2 separate regions of the Homo sapiens genome follow, and region 2 is linked to region 1. Evidence: promoter capture Hi-C in 16 types of primary human blood cells and fetal thymus (Javierre and others, 2016). All regions are on one chromosome and are shown on one strand. The core of a region is centred on a gene start or on the middle of the fragment in contact, and the rest is flanking DNA. Distances in the headings are between cores, read along the strand shown.

Evidence for each region. The method cuts DNA at HindIII sites, captures the fragments that hold promoters and counts their contacts. A CHiCAGO score of 5 or more calls a contact.
Region 2: a fragment that was not itself captured here is called in contact with the fragment with the promoter of TRMT5 in region 1 in 1 of 17 cell types (total CD8 T cells); the score reaches 5.5 in total CD8 T cells.

The regions. Positions count from the first base shown.
Region 1 is chr14:60,979,727-60,982,426 of GRCh38, forward strand. It overlaps TRMT5 (tRNA methyltransferase 5), which reads right to left and starts at 1,353. Exons shown (of 5, transcript NM_020810.3): 1 at 1,237-1,353; 2 at 1-160. The coding sequence starts at 1,247. It overlaps SLC38A6 (solute carrier family 38 member 6), which reads left to right and starts at 1,519. Exons shown (of 16, transcript NM_153811.3): 1 at 1,519-1,656. The coding sequence starts at 1,552. RefSeq lists an enhancer at 1,243-1,622. The HindIII fragment of the contact is 5,504 bases long and covers 1-2,700 here.
Region 2 is chr14:59,964,912-59,967,611 of GRCh38, forward strand. It overlaps LRRC9 (leucine rich repeat containing 9), which reads left to right. Exons shown (of 33, transcript NM_001395648.1): 11 at 1,678-1,854; 12 at 2,185-2,302. Among named protein-coding and RNA genes, the nearest start is that of LRRC9, 46 kb to the left of the region's middle. RefSeq lists an enhancer at 376-435. The HindIII fragment of the contact is 1,688 bases long and covers 446-2,133 here.

The sequences.
Region 1 (2,700 bases), core at 103-2,602:
GAATCTTTTTCTTTGACCCAATAAGAAAATACCAGGTGCTTCCAAAAGCATCTGTGTCAGGGATGTCCAAGCTACTGGAATCAACGATTTTGATTCAGTTATGCTATGGCTTTCCAGTTTCAGAAATCTTCCTGAGAATCCAAATGGCCTCCATAAGATCCTTAAAAAAAAAAAAAAAAAATTCACACACGACAGCTTTTGAGAATAAAAATCTAAATTCTACTATCTCAAATAACGGGCTAAATGCTGACAAATAAAACGTTTAGTGATGTGTGGGAAGTATACTATCTTTTCCAGACTAGGATGACTTCTTCAGGAAGTCGTATTAGTGGTAGATAATAGTGGTATATATTAAATTTACACCTTCAACCCATCTGCTCCCAGTTCAGAGGGCTTAGTGATCCATTAGCCATACTCAATGATCCTCTTCACCCACAATTTTCTAGATAATACATTTGGGATTGGAAGACTGAAGTATGAGTTAAATGGTCATCTGTAAATGAAATAGTCATTATACATGACCATTACTAGTGGTGATATTTATTAGGATAGTCTCATGGGTGCTTATTGTGTCAGATACTGCGCTAAATGCTTTATGTACATTATGAATCTTGGGAGGTGTGCAGTATTGCACCCTCATTTTGTAAATAAGTAAACTAAAGCTCAGACGTAAGGTAACCCACCCAAAGTCTCCCAGCTGATAAGTGGCTAAACATGGATTAAAACCTAGTTTTGACTGACTTCGGTGCTTGTGTTCTTAATATATTGCTCTGTTGTTTGTTTTCGATGCTTTACTGCCACATGTCCTGCCTTTAACTAGAGGCTTCTGTATTTTGAGGACGAGAGCTTTGCTGATTGTTATATGCATAGTATCAGTTATTCACTGTCTTCTAAAATACCAAAGAATTTACTTGTAAGGGGAAAGGGCCCTGTCCCAGAATCCTGTAAAGCAACGAAGTCTAACTTCACCGTCAGAGATCAAATTGGTTCTAGCAGCTGACCAGCTGGGTGACCCTGGATAAATTACTATAAGTCTCGGTTTTCCCACCAGTAAAATGTGGCGAAAGGCTTTTGAAACATTCCTTACTATCCAGAACCTCGAAACTAAGCTCAGCACCTAGGCGGGTGGGTGACCTCGCGATGTTTCTGTGCCCAGGCAGCACATGGCAGAGAGCAGCCCTGGGCGGGCTGGTACCTCCCCTGGACCATTAGCCCCTAACGCGGCCGCCACCTCACCAAAGCACCATTCCAATTCCCCACGTCGCTCTGCAGCTGGATCCGCGAGCCGACCCCTCACCTCCCGCTCCGGTACCGATCGGATGTGGGTCGCGGGTGGATGGGCGGGTCTTCTATGACATCATCACTGTTCGCCGCGAAGAGGGCGCGCGTCATCAGATCAAGTCGACTCGCTCCTCTCCTTCCAGGCCCTGGTGAAGTACGGAATGCCGGAAGGGCCGGGCTCAAAGCTCCGCCTCTGGCGCGACCGACGACTGGAGCGCAGGGCAGGGGTAGAGGCTCGTAGATGGAACTGGTAGTCAGCTGGAGAGCAGCATGGAGGCGTCCTGGGGGAGCTTCAACGCTGAGCGGGGCTGGTATGTCTCTGTCCAGCAGCCTGAAGAAGCGGAGGCCGAAGAGTTGAGTCCGTTGCTAAGCAACGTAAGTGGGCTGTGTTCGCTTCCCCGCGCTGACGCCCTCCGGCTTCCCTCAAGTGCCTGCCAAATAAGACCCAGAAAAGGAGGACCGCACCGGGACAGGGGAGATGCTGGAGCCTGAACCCTGGGGGATGGGGTCTGAAGGCAGCCGCCGAGATTCAGATGAGATTGGCGCAGTTATGAACGTGATAGCAGCCTAGCATACTCTAGAAAGAAAAGATGAAAAGCGTCGGGTGGAAGAGATGCAGCGTTGAGTGGAAGCTGCGAACATGATGGGATGAGCGGCCCTAGGATTATGTACTCACTGCTGTTAGTTAGTATTTTTGTCACCTTATTTTCTCCACCAGTCTCGTGAGGTCTTTGCAAGAGTCACAGGATTTTCCTCTTCCGACTTAGTCATGGGGGGAGGGAAAATAATAAACATTTTAATACAGAAATTCTTAGCGGTAGAATGGAAGTGGCTTGGTAGTAAGTGCATAGCACGTTCCTGACCCTAAAGCCTGTGCAGTGGGCACTCCGCTTTTTAACTCGAGTCCTAGACACTGTTCCCAGGACTTTGTTCCCGGTGCTGTTTGTGGGGAGGGGGATGTTTTCAGGGATACTGCCAGAACAACGTGAATTGCTTCTGTTTATAATATTGTCATTGCAAGATATTCCTGACCATCCTTCCAGTTTGGTAGAACTAATTCATTAGATATATAAGTAGAGATTAGTTGTGCAGTCCTAGTAATTGAGGAGAAACAACTGCCCACAGCAGTCCCAGGTTGACTCAGCAATTCTTTAGTAATCACATGAGCTGAGGCCTTATCCCTCCTCTCTCTCCCCACTCCATTCCCATCCTATCTTCATCTCTTGCAGTCACAAGGTTAGTCATGGCCCTTCCTGAACTCTGCCTGTCTTGTGTACTGGTGGAAATCATTTTCCTAAGAAACCCTAGATTCCTGGAGCTGCAGTAGTGGGAGGTGGGAAGGAAAGGAAAGGAAATTAGTGTTGGTTAAGCAACGAGTGTGTCATACAAACCCTGGTGGTTTGCAGCTTTTTTCCATAA
Region 2 (2,700 bases), core at 40-2,539, 1.0 Mb before region 1:
GCATTGATTAAGTATTTGCTTGTGAGAAATATAGATGCCCTAAGTTAGGAGCTCAGCTATTAGGCTCAAGGAGAGACTACCCATCAGGAAGCTCACCTCTGTGACCTTAGCTCACACCCATTTCAGACCCTGGTTGATTATGTAGGTGAGGACCTAGATCTTTCATTAAAGGCAAATGTATTCCTTATAAGACCATTTACTTCCTTCTCAAAATGATCCGTTTTTCAATCTCATCTTAATCTAGGTTCTGTGCTAGACAGGACCGGAATTTTATGCGTATGGCCAGGTGAGGGCAGCAGAGAGCAAACAAGCACTTCAGTGTTATTTTCACACAGCTGGCCCCTGCTCCTCCTCCTCCAATTTTCAGATCAAATATCTTAACGTCTCTGAAAGGTCGTCCCCAAGGCCCTATCTTAAGTAGGTCCCCTTTGCATTCCTTACCCCAAGCTTCTCTTCAGAGCCTTTTTCAGTTTAGAAATTTTATTTCTGGCTTTACTTGTTTAGGCTTCATTAGAGCAGACAATGCCTCTTTCACATCCGTATTCATTGTCAGGAAGTTATTTCAGTAGTCCAATGAGAGATCGTGGTGATTTGGATTAGGATGGTAACAGTGGTGATGATGAAACACGATCACATTCAGGATGGATTTTAGATGTAGAGCCAGGCGGACTTGCTAAAGAATTAGATACTGGGGCCGGGCGCGGTGGCTCACGCCTGTAATCCCAGCACTGGGAGGCCGAGGTGGGCGGATCACGAGGTCAGGAGATTGAGACCATCCTGGCTAACACGGTGAAACCCCGTCTGTATTAAAAACACAAAAAATTAGCCGGGCGTGATGGCGGGCGCCTGTAGTCCCAGCTACTCGGGAAGCTGAGGCAGGAGAATGGCGTGAACCCGGGAGGCGGAGATTGCAGTGAGTGGAGATGGCGCCCCTGCACTCTAGCCTGGGCGACAGAGCGAGACTCCGCCTCAAAAAAAAAAAAAAAAAAAAAAAAAAAAAAAAAAAAAAGATACTGGTGAGGAAGAAAGGAGAGGATTATTCCTACGGTTTTGACTTAAGCTATCAGTTAAATGGTGGTGCCATATACTGAGATGGAAAATACTCAGAGGAGCAGGTTTGGGGTGCAGTGTTAGTTATGTTAGGTTGGAGTCACCTGTTTAACATGCAGATGGACATACCAAGTAGGTAGTTGGATATTCAAGTCTGGGTATAACCAGCTAAGTTGAGTAGAGATCAAGACTAGAAATAAAATGTTGTAATTTATCAGGATGTATATAAAGCCAAGGAACCACGTGAAATCATCTAGGGAGAGTGTTCGTGGAAGCAAGAGGAAGGCCAAAGGCTGATCCCTGGGCAGTTCAACATCTAAAAGTCTGTCTGAGAAGACCCAGCAAGAAAACTATGAAAGAGCAGCCAATAAGAGGAAGGCGTATGAAGTTTCCCTGAAGCTAAGAAAGTGTTTCAGAAAGTGAAGATTGCTCAACCAACCTGTCTTCCAGGCAGAACAAATGTGCAATAAATGAATAAATAAACGGAGCCACTATATGATTACTGTATCTTTAGCAAAAGACACAAAATATGAGCTATAACTTTTATCACGTAGTTTTCTGTTCTTAAACATTTTAAGGAAAATCTATTATTTTCTTCATGTATATTCTGTATGTATTCCCACATAGGTTTAATTTCTGCTATGAATTAATTCTGTCACGTTTTTGTGCCTGGGACTTCAGAACATACGGTATTACAGGAGTAAAAGTAAAACGCATCATTAAAGTTAACAACCGTATTCTGAGACTAAAATTCGAAGAGAAATTTCAAAAGTTTTTGGAGAATGAAGATATGCATGATTCAGAGTAAGAAGCTGAATTCTTTATGGAACAACTTTACAAAAGTGTGACTGTATTTGTAAAATTTCTATTTTAAAAGTTTACAGCATTAAAAATATACATATACCTTGTTAGTAAATGTTTCCTTTTTATGCATCTCCCATGGCCAGGATGACCTCATAATTTATCCACATTGAGCCTGTTTTTGAGGTTGAAGGCAGGGGAGCTATTAATAATGACACTAGAACATTGCATGTCAATGACAAATATCCCTGGCAGGACATATGGTTATCTTATCTATGGCTAAGCTTTTGTGAAATCAATCCTCAAACTTTTTCTGTTTCAATTATTCTTAAGGAGCTACCGAAGGATGCTGGAATGCCTTTTTTATGTTTTTGATCCTGAAGTTTCAGTGAAGAAAAAGCATCTTCTACAAATACTTGAAAAAGGATTCAAAGACAGTGAAACAAGCAAGGTAGCATAAAATGTCATTTAGAATAATGCTTTCTTCCTAGCAAGTGGAGCTCTGCCGCTGGTTAAGCATGATTTCCCAATCCTTTTATCCATATTTATAGTAAATTTCTACTGCTGTTTCACAAAAAGCTTAGTGTTATCATGGAAAGTATAGCATCTTTCCTCTTTGGATTATACCAAAGTAAGCCCATTAATTACTACTGCCTGACCCTACGTAATCCTTCTAGGCATCTTATTTTTATGTTGTGTTCCTTTTGTTGATGGTTTTGAAATCTGCTTTTTAAATTGGTTATAAATCTTTAATCTTTTGTAAACTCTCCAGTCTTCACCTTGAAGCAATTCAGTCACTTAACTCCACTGTACTTTCTAGCTATTGCTTTCCTTTTACTGCTACCATTT